Regions from separate parts of the Homo sapiens genome. Here region 1 is linked to region 2. The links are contacts of gene promoters, found by promoter capture Hi-C in blood cells and fetal thymus (Javierre and others, 2016). All regions are on one chromosome and are shown on one strand. Each heading gives the region's core, a stretch centred on a gene start or on the middle of the fragment in contact. The rest is flanking DNA. Distances are from core to core; before and after follow the strand shown.

Region 1 (5,148 bases), core at 1,011-3,510, 1.7 Mb after region 2:
GCTCACGCCTGTAATCCCAGCATTTTGGGAGGCTGAGGCAGGCGGATCACGAGGTCAGGAGATCGAGACCATCCTGGCTAACACGGTGAAACCCCATCTCTACTAAAAATACAAAAGAATTAGCCAGGCGTGGCGGTGGGCGCCTGTAGTCCCAGCTACTCGGGAGACTGAGGCAGGAGAATGGCGTGAACCCGGGAGGCGGAGCTTGCTCCAGCCTGGGCGACAGAGCAAGACTCCGCCTCAAAGAAAAAAAAAATCTTTTCCTTCCTCCTTTCTGGTAAATATATACTTTCTTGACATCTATTTCTGATAAACTTTATTTTTTTAACACAGTGGTTCTCAAACTTTTGGTCTCAACTCTTTTGCACACTTAAAAATTATTAAGGGCTCTAAACAATTTTGGTTTATATTGACATTATCGACATTTACTATATGAGAAATCAAAACAAAAACTTGATGTTTTTGAAAGTCTTTTTTTGGAGTCTGGCTTAATAGAAAACAGCTGTTCTGCATTTACTCCGTTGCAATATCACAGTCTCCAGCAAACTCAACTGTATGCAACTCATAAGAAAATCAGAGCGAAAAGGCAAATAACATCTTAGTATTGTGAAAATTTTATCTTGATGACCATTAAAACTGCTGTTTTAATACATATTCTACTTGTGCTTCCTCTTTATGAAAAAAGAAATCTTGAAGAAATCAATGAGATTTTGAATTAAAACTGAACCATAGGCCAGGCACGGTTGCACGTGCCTATAGTCCCAGCTACTCAGGAGGCTGAGTCCGGGAGGATCGTTTGAGCCCTGGCGTTCCAGCTGTAGTGAGCTAGGATGGCGCCTCTGACTAGCCACTGCAATCCAGCCTGGGCAACATAGTAGACCCCCGTCTCAAAAAACAACACAAAACAGAACATGAACCTAAAATGCAGAAGAAACTCATTGATTGAGTTGTCAATTTTAATAGCTATGGCTCAAGACGGTACAATTAAAAACTATGCATGAAGGATGAAGAGAATCCAGCGGCATTAGGGCCACTCTTTCACCTTTGTCTCCATCTAAACTTCCTATTCATCCTTCAAATCTCTGCACAGGTGACGCCTTTTCTCTAAAGCCTCTTCCTTTACCACAAATAACAGTGATTATAATAATAACATTATTAACGATTACTACCATTTATTGGCCACTTACTAGGAGCCAAGCAACATCAAAACACAGCACGCGTCAGCTCACTTAATTTTCACAGTAAACCCCGAGGAGGATGCTGGCTTCACTTTAAAAAGAGGTGACTGAAGGTTGGAGAAGAAAGGCCTCTGGCCTCTAGCTCTGTGCCTTGCACACCTGATCTGTCTCAGCATTTATTGCATCCCGAGGGTCACCGTCCACGTGCCTCTATCCTGCTCAAGGTGAGTTCTTGCAGTCAAAGGTCAAGGGTGGCTCGTCTCCACTTCCCCCGCAACCAAACCGCCCGGTCTCAGTGAGGGAGCCGCCAGAAGGGAAGGAGCCTCCTAGCTTCCCGGTCCTCACGCTCCCGGAGCCCACACGCCCCAAACAGACACAGAAGAGCTCGCTGAGCTCTCCGCGCAGCTAAACCCTCCAAGCTTTGCTGGGAGAAACCGATGCCCGAGAGCGCGTCGCGAGGTTCCTCCTCCGCCAGGTGCGCCGGCTGAGGCCGGAACCTTTTTCCTCCCGCCGCGGTAGCAGGGCGCAGGCCGGAACCTTTCTTCTCGCGTCGCCGTTGCCGGGGGGAGGCGTGTGGGGCAGGACCAGTCCTTCAGCGGCCGGGTTCGCGCCGCGGTCGCCGGCTGCTTACGTGGGCGGGCCTAGTGTGGGGCTGAGGGTGCGGGTCGCTATGGCGGTGGACATCACGCTGCTATTCCGGGCCAGCGTCAAGACCGTGAAGACGCGGAACAAGGCGCTGGGAGTGGCGGTGGGCGGCGGGGTCGATGGCAGCCGGGACGAGCTGTTCCGCCGGAGCCCCCGGCCCAAGGGCGACTTCTCCAGCCGGGCCCGCGAAGTGGTGAGCTGGTTGCTATGGAAACGGCGGGTTGAGGAGGGGGCAGTCCTGCGACAGGGACCCCGGGCCCCAAACCAGACCCCGTCCCGTAAGCATTGTGTGAAGGGGGTGGCTCTAAGGGGGACAGAAGAGTTGGCCTCAGAGACCCTACAGCTTTTTGGGGGAAGGAACAGCCTTATTTTGAGGAAGGGGGACGCATATTGGGGAACAGATTTCTCCTGCGGCGACAGGGATTGGGGGACAAGAAAGGAGATCCTCAGAAATCTCTATCTGGAAAGTGCATGGGCGGCTTTGTGAGGTCATGAGTTCGCCGTCACTACAGACTTGCACTCAGGGGAAACCTCCTGACAGTCCTTCGCTTCCTGTTGCAGCACTGACCACACCATATTTGCCTGTTCTATTTACTTGTCTGCCTCCCACCCCTAGTTGAGATTAAAAACTGTATTCAGCCGAACTCTTTCTTCCCTTTGTCTCTGCAATAAGTAGGACTCAGTTCCTCTTGAGACGGGTTTAGGGTAATCTTTCGCAAACACAGTGTTACAGTCACCTCAACTACTTTCTGTTCCCTGATCAGAGCAGGTGTCCCTTCATCTCCCTGGGAACAGGAACCTTTTCCTTAAGGGCAGGGACAGTGTTGTTTTCATCTCAGAATGCATGACTCATAGCATTGCTTAGTAAATGTTTGTTGAATGAGTGAATGAACAAATGGCTGTCTTTCCCATTAAACAGAAAACTCCATAAGGGGAGAGCTGTTTGTCTTGTTCCCTTTTGTGTTCGTGACACCAAGGAGGTATCTAGGTTTTGTGGGGCCTACAGCTTATATAGTTCTGTCTGCCCTCTTCAAGAAATAAAAATCACCAAGAAAGATTCAGAGCTTTGGAAGATTGAAGAGAGGGACCCTAAAGCTTAAGCCTCATTAATTTCACAGTAAATCCTTCTCTGCTTGGCATACACTTGGCACTGTATAGACACTCAGATATTTTTGAATGAATGTAGTCATGCATGCATTAATGACAGTTAGCAGAGGATACTTAAACATTAGAAAGGGGATTGGACCAGATGAATACACTCGCCCTATTGATGACCGTCTATGAAGCACCTACCTTCTGACCAGCCTCGTGTTAGAGTAATATGATGTAAAAGCAGTGGTGGAGTAGACGGACATAGACATAAAACAAGTGCCATAAAGCCTTGCAGGTGTTGTGTAGGGCACAAAAAGAATGTGGTCAGTTCTACCTGAGGACCAGAAAAGGCTTTATAGAGGCGATGATGCCTAAAACAAATCTTGAAAGAGGATTAGTTGGTTCCAGTGCAGAAGGACATCTCAGGCTAAGAGAATAGTATGCGCTAAGCTGTGGAGGTAGGTAACAGTCTGACATAAGTTGGTTCAATAAACATTTGAGTGAGACTGGAATGTGGGACTCTCATAAAAATTGGACGCGGAGATCTTAAAGGGCTTTGTGTATCATTGCAGAGTTTGAATTTTGCCCTGTAGATGGTCAGATGTTATCTGGTAGAGAAAGCACCAGAGAAGGAGCCAAGAGACGAGGTTGTTGTCTGAACCCTGCAACTATTAGCTATATGATTTCATTAAGCAAGTTTTAAGACCTCAGTTTATTTACCTGTAAATGGTCCTTTTTTTCTCCTCCTCCTTTTAAAAAACTACCTTGGTCCTCTATATGTAACAAATTAAAGTGGGAGCTTCCTAGGTTGAAATAAGAGGAAGAGAAACAGGACACTCTCCCTCCCAGTTTGGCCCAAGCACTTCTTGAGATTCCTTTTGTAGAACTGTGGTATGAATATCACAGTATTGGCTTTTTAAGGGTCCCTTCTAACTCTGAAACCACTGATTTATTAACACTGTGCTAATTTTGAGTCCTGCTCAGGGAAAGGGGGGATTTGGGAATGGTAGAGACAGGAGGCACAGTTGGGTTGGCAAGCCCTTTGGAGAGCCCTGTGATCACTTCCACCTCTCCCTGAGTGGTGAAAATGTGTTTGAGTTTTGAGTTAATGGGCCTCAGGGACAGTAACAGTCCCATAGGGTGCTGAGTTCCCTGTCACTGGAAGTGATTAAACAGAGTGATGACTGCTTTTCAGAGATGTTTGAGAAAAGCTTTGTGCATATGTCACAGGGTTGGACCGCATGACAATGCAACTTGCAGTTCTGCTATGTATTGATGTGAGTAGGTGTCACATCACCTTAAGTGAGTTCATGGGCTGTGTTGTTCAGGGACACTGTCCCCCTGACGTAGAGGAAACATACATTCTTTTAAGCAATTTTGATTTTATGTTGTCATTGCTTTGTGTATTATCTCCTGTTCTTGCAACCGTTCCCCACTCCCCATCTTCTCTTGTGGGAAGTTTAACTAGAAGAGCTAGTGATGGATGTCCTGTGCTTTTACTACAATTAGATGTCAAAAGTTTGGCTGTTATTTTGTTTGGCCTGGATTCCTTATAGAGAAAAGTCTGGTAAATACCAGAAGCACATATTCTAATTCAGGTTTAGCCCTGGTTGTCAGACTTAATGAAATGTAATAAGTTATAGTATGCCTTTTGGTAAGTGCCTTCCTTGAAGCATTTGCTGTTACTTCTAGGATGCGTTTTATCTGGTTCAATTTCTATTCTTCCATTCCATTCCTCAAATATATGCCTGATGCCAGATTTCCATCTCACTGAATTGTTGTAGAGGTTATATTAAGTTGAATAAAATTGCATTGAAACTGCAATTTTATTGCAGTCCCTACCTTCCAACAACAGGCTGATTGCTTCTGCATCATTCTTTTAAACATTTAACTTTTATGCTCAATTTTACTAAATTTATATATACTCAAATGCATGTCTACCCATTAAATTACAAATGGAGAGTAACGACTTTTCAGATTATTTGGGGGAGGAACTTATATTATTCGAACAACTCCAAATAATAATGAATATGTCACTCTGCAATGGGAATTTGATTAGTTAACTCATTTGAAGTGTGGGACTAGTGAGGATGATGGGATTGGAAAGAGACCTGGGCCTTGGGTTCAAATCTCGCTTCTGCTACTTAGAAATGGGTGAACTTGGGCAAGTCTGACTCTCGTTTTCCATTTCTATAAAGTGGACGTGATAATACCCTACTTAACTCACAAGCTA
Region 2 (4,440 bases), core at 508-3,007:
GGCTGGCTGTGGTGGTACCACTTCCGGAAGTAGGGAAGTGGGAGGGGAGGGGAGCCGTGTAGGCATAAAGCTCCCGACCTATTATGATTCTTATTGCCACCGTCAAGGATGGGTGTTTCGGGTCTGTCTGGCAGTGCAGACATCTCTGGGGGTTGAGACTGAGCTGAGGTCCCCTCTGTGACCAGCCCCAGAAGCCTGTCCAGCACTGGTCCGGGATGGGCAGGGGAGGCCTAAGTCAGAGACGCCCTCCATGCTCTTCCATCCTGGGAAAGAAGGTGAGATGGGGTCTCCCAGCCAACTTTTCCTGTGTCTGCGAAGGGAGGACAAACCAGCAGGTAGGGAAAAGAGGCTGAAATGTGGAGAAGCCTCCCTCCAAATCCCTGGTTGGATACAACGGAGACCCCATGGGAATCACAGACCCTTGGACACAGAAGTAAACAGGTGGCGACAGTGACAAAGGTGGCCTCTGGGCTTCCCGTGGGCTCCCTCTCCTGCTGCAGAGAACAGGCAGCCAGCACATGGGGTACCCAGGGCACAGCTCCTTGAGTGATGGATGCTGGCATAAGAGAAAGCCCTTTACAAACTGCAAAGCCCTGGGCCAAATGCCAGGGGTCACTGTCCAAGGTGAGGAGAGACGGGGCTGCTTCTGGAGAGATAGGGCAGAGGCCTCACACCAGGCTCTGCCCCATCAGCTTCGTGGTCCTGGGCTGGCACCAAACCCTGCTGAGCCTCAGCTTCCTGGGGTGTCAAACGGGGACTATAACTTCTCCGCCTAAGGCTACTGAGAGGGTTAAATCTGGGTGGTGGGGGGTTGCACAAATGCGACTTCCTTGGAATTCATAACATCATCTGCTAAGTGGGTGAGAGGCCAGGGCGCCATCACATCCAAAAGGGCTGGGTAGGATTCTCCAGAAAGTTTTCGTTGATCAAACAAAAAGCTAATGATCCAGAGGGTGGAGTTCATACGAGGCAGGGTCCAGGTGCTGCCACTGAAACCCCTCAACTCTCTACTGAGGGGCCCCGAGAGAGAGAGGAACTGCCACAGCGCTCCTAAGTGGGCTGTGGGGATTCAGAATGACCCCTAAGCTGCCCCTCGGGCGGGCCGGGTCCCCCTGGGGGACTGAACCCCCCTTCCCCCCCACAACACCTCCCGGGGGCCCAGGCGCGTTCCAACGGCCGGGCGGGCACCGAGGGCGGCCGTGGGTCCCGGGACCGCGGGGGAGGGGCATGACGGGGCAACTCGGGGGGGATGGCGCGGGGCGCGGGGAGGGGGCCTGCCCGCCGGCCGCTCCGCCTCTCGGGCCTGCTGTCCCGCCCGCGGCGGGGCTCCAGGCGACAGCGCGCGGGGGACCGGGGCGCGCCCCCCGGGTGACCCGTTCGGGCCCGGAACAGGGGTCGCCTTGCGCGTTGCAGAGCGGGCGGGACCCCCGGCCCTCCAACTTCGGGGACCTTGTCGGGACTTTGGGGCCAGCCACCCATCAGCTCGGAAGGGGAAACTGAGGCCCGAAGAGGACAGTGCCTCAGGGCTCTTGCCCGCCTCCTGCGCGCTGCCCACAGCCACCGCGCCACTGCCCCAGCGCCGAAGTACTCACCGGCCCGTGAGTGGGCCGCACGCGGCGCTGCGACGCCCTGGGGCCTCTGGGCCGGCAGAAAAGTTGTTCGGGAGCAGCTGAACGCGGCGCAAACGGGAGATCTGCGGCCGCGGGGGAGCAATCTGCACTCGCTGCTGAAGAGCCGGCTAGCGCGGCCTTCTGCACGAGGGGGCGGGGCAGGGGCGGGGCCTTCGGCCTCCCTCCACTCCAGACGCGGCCCCCCGGATGCGGCGCCAGCTCGGCCTGCTGAGTGGCCGGTGTAGCCGCCAATCACTCCACATCTCCGCCAATCACGGTGCGCCTCGCCTAGCTGCGGCCCGGCACTCCCCCTGCGTGGTTGGGCCCGAGGGGCCAGAAGGCGGGTCCGGCTCGCCCACAGCGAAAGTTTCCGAGCGGACTCGGGCCCCGGCCCCGCCCCCGCCCCGCCCGCGGAACGTCCAGTTGCTTAGCGAGGCCGCTCGCCTTCTCCTGTAACAGGTGGTTTGGACCCGTGGAAAAGGCTCCGGCCACCTTTCATCCACCACTCCGGCCTCAGCGTCCCCAACTGCAGATTCATTATATTTGCTGTTGCAATATTAACACACGTCTTGAGCGCCTATTCCGGCGCTGCAAGAGAGTCTAAGGGCTCCCCTAATAACAGCAGCAGAGATGGAAAAATGGGGCCTGTTTGAAACGAGTGTCTGCAGCCAAGTACTGCTTTCAGTGCCCAGAATCAAATGCAGTGTAGCAAGCTTTTCACACGGTGACTGTGGGATTCCTTTAAAGTGTGTGTTAGCCCAGGGAGTGGGCAAGGCTCAGGCAGTTTGGAGACTCTGGGAGTTTGGTTCCTGTCTGGGAGGCGTGGTTTGGAGATGAGGGCGAGGGTCTATCCTTGAGAGGCCCTGGGGAACGTGAGACCCTGCCTGCTCTGTCTCTGGTCCCCACAACCAACCTGAGCTACCTGTCCTAGTTATCACAGCAGAAACTGGGGCTCGGAGTGACTGTCAGAGATAATGCTTACCAACATGTTGGGAGCAAATATTCCAGATGGCTTTGGAGATGAGTTCTGAACACACTACTTCGGAGGACTTTTGTCAAAGCGGCGTAGTTCATGTCAGTCACCTCATTTGATTCTCCAGCTGCCCCCACTGCCCACCCCCGATCCCCAATGTTCACGTGTGACCCTGTGAGGCTCACAGAGGAAGGAAGAACACCTGCCGTCAGCCTCGCCTGCTCTGTCCAGGTTGGCTTAGGGGCTTTCACAGCTTTCAAGGGCCCCCCTAGTGACCCAAGGAGGGAGGTGGCACTGAGCCCATTTTTTATTGATGTGAAAATTGAGGCTCAGACATAGTTATTTGCCCAAAGTCTTGAAGATGTCTTTCCACCTTATCACACACTAACTGTAGAAAATTTGGAGAATTACTAAAAGTAGAAAGGAGAAAAAAAATCACTCAAAGATGATCACTGTTCACATTGTGAGATTTATGCACATTTAAGAAAATAATAAATATTAATGTGAACACACAATCACAGAGAGGCTGAAGCACTTCCCAAACCCTTTGCAGGGGCTCATTAAGCAGAGAGAAGAGGACAGATTGAAAAGTTCCTCCTGTGGAGGTCTAAGGGAAGAGAGGAAGTGCAACAAAAAATCTACAAGATGGCTTAAGGAGCCTCTATCAGAACACAGCAACACTGAACATACTCCACGGAGCTAAGAGACTGAAAAAGCAACAGGCAAATTCAGAAAGAGAAGAGTGGAGGTGAGGACAAATGAGCAAACTGGAAGATAATGTGGAGTAAATGCTTCATGATGTAGAGGAAAAGCACATGAAAATCATCAGGACAAAAAGCAGAGACTGGAAAGACAGTTCCAGGAGGTGTATTGCACAAAGGACAGGTACTCCAGGAAGAGCTGGAGGGGAAACAGAGGTGAGCAAAGTGCCAGGAGAACGTGTCCCTGGAAATCCCAGATGCCAAGGATAAAGAGACGGTCTTGCAGAGTTCCAGAAAGAACAGGTCACATCTAAGGGGAGAAAAGTTGAAGTGGTTCCTAGGGGACTTTGGAGCAATGTCCAGGGACTCTGATGATAGGATCAAGGATCCTTACCATGGCTACTACAGGATTCATCTATGTGGACAAAAGAGAGAAAATATCCACTGTGGCAAGACAGAGAAAGGACCTCAGTGATGTCCCCTTTCAGAGGAAGATATTCAGAGTTCCCCCGTCACCGAGACAGTTCAATCACAGTAGAGATTTCAAGATAGAGCAAACGCTCAGAACAGGAAGTGGTGTTAAGCAATGACCCTTGCAAAATATACAGTATGGATAATCCACATGTGCCTGTGATTTTGTACTAGCAGTGCCACATAAGGATTCTTAAAACATAAGCTACATGCTTCAAGAGAAAGTTGTATTAGCCTGGAACTAAAAAAAAAAATAGAATCTTATCACAGAGAAGTCAGAATATTTTAAGATCACATTTGGTTGAGGGGAGAAGGAGGAAGTAAAAGGATCTGATTTGGTGAGTGGGGAAGGAAAGCCTTATTGGTGGTTGGGAGGGGTGCTTCATTACCATTTACTTTTAATACATTAGCAGGGAAAGATTGGTTTAATTATGACTCTCAGCTGGGGAAGGAAAGCCTTATTGGTGGTGGGGAGGGGGCTTCATTACCATTTACTTTTAATACATTATCAGGGAAAGATTGGTTGAATTATGACTCTCAGGAATTGGAAAGTAGCAACTCACGGGAAAGAAGCAGAGTAGAACTCCTGAATTACTAGGTAGAAGTTGGGGGAGGGGTGGAGGGAGAGTAAGGAAGCAAAATTAAGGGGGAAAGTAAATAATAGCAAGAACAATAAGCTTAATAA

The links. The method cuts DNA at HindIII sites, captures the fragments that hold promoters and counts their contacts. A CHiCAGO score of 5 or more calls a contact.
Region 1: a fragment that was not itself captured here is called in contact with the fragment with the promoter of WFS1 in region 2 in 1 of 17 cell types (non-activated CD4 T cells); the score reaches 5.4 in non-activated CD4 T cells.

The regions. Positions count from the first base shown.
Region 1 is chr4:4,538,665-4,543,812 of GRCh38, reverse strand. It overlaps STX18 (syntaxin 18), which reads left to right and starts at 1,765. Exons shown (of 11, transcript NM_016930.4): 1 at 1,765-2,016. The coding sequence starts at 1,849. It overlaps LOC124900165, which reads right to left and starts at 1,682. Exons shown (of 6, transcript XM_047416490.1): 1 at 1,338-1,682. It overlaps STX18-AS1 (STX18 antisense RNA 1 (head to head)), which reads right to left and starts at 1,682. Exons shown (of 6, transcript NR_037888.1): 1 at 1,338-1,682. RefSeq lists enhancers at 1,597-1,891, 1,616-1,895. The HindIII fragment of the contact is 1,321 bases long and covers 1,600-2,920 here.
Region 2 is chr4:6,267,167-6,271,606 of GRCh38, reverse strand. WFS1 (wolframin ER transmembrane glycoprotein) reads right to left here and starts at 1,757. Exons shown (of 8, transcript NM_006005.3): 1 at 1,593-1,757. RefSeq lists a silencer at 1,670-1,779. The HindIII fragment of the contact is 3,425 bases long and covers 1-2,325 here.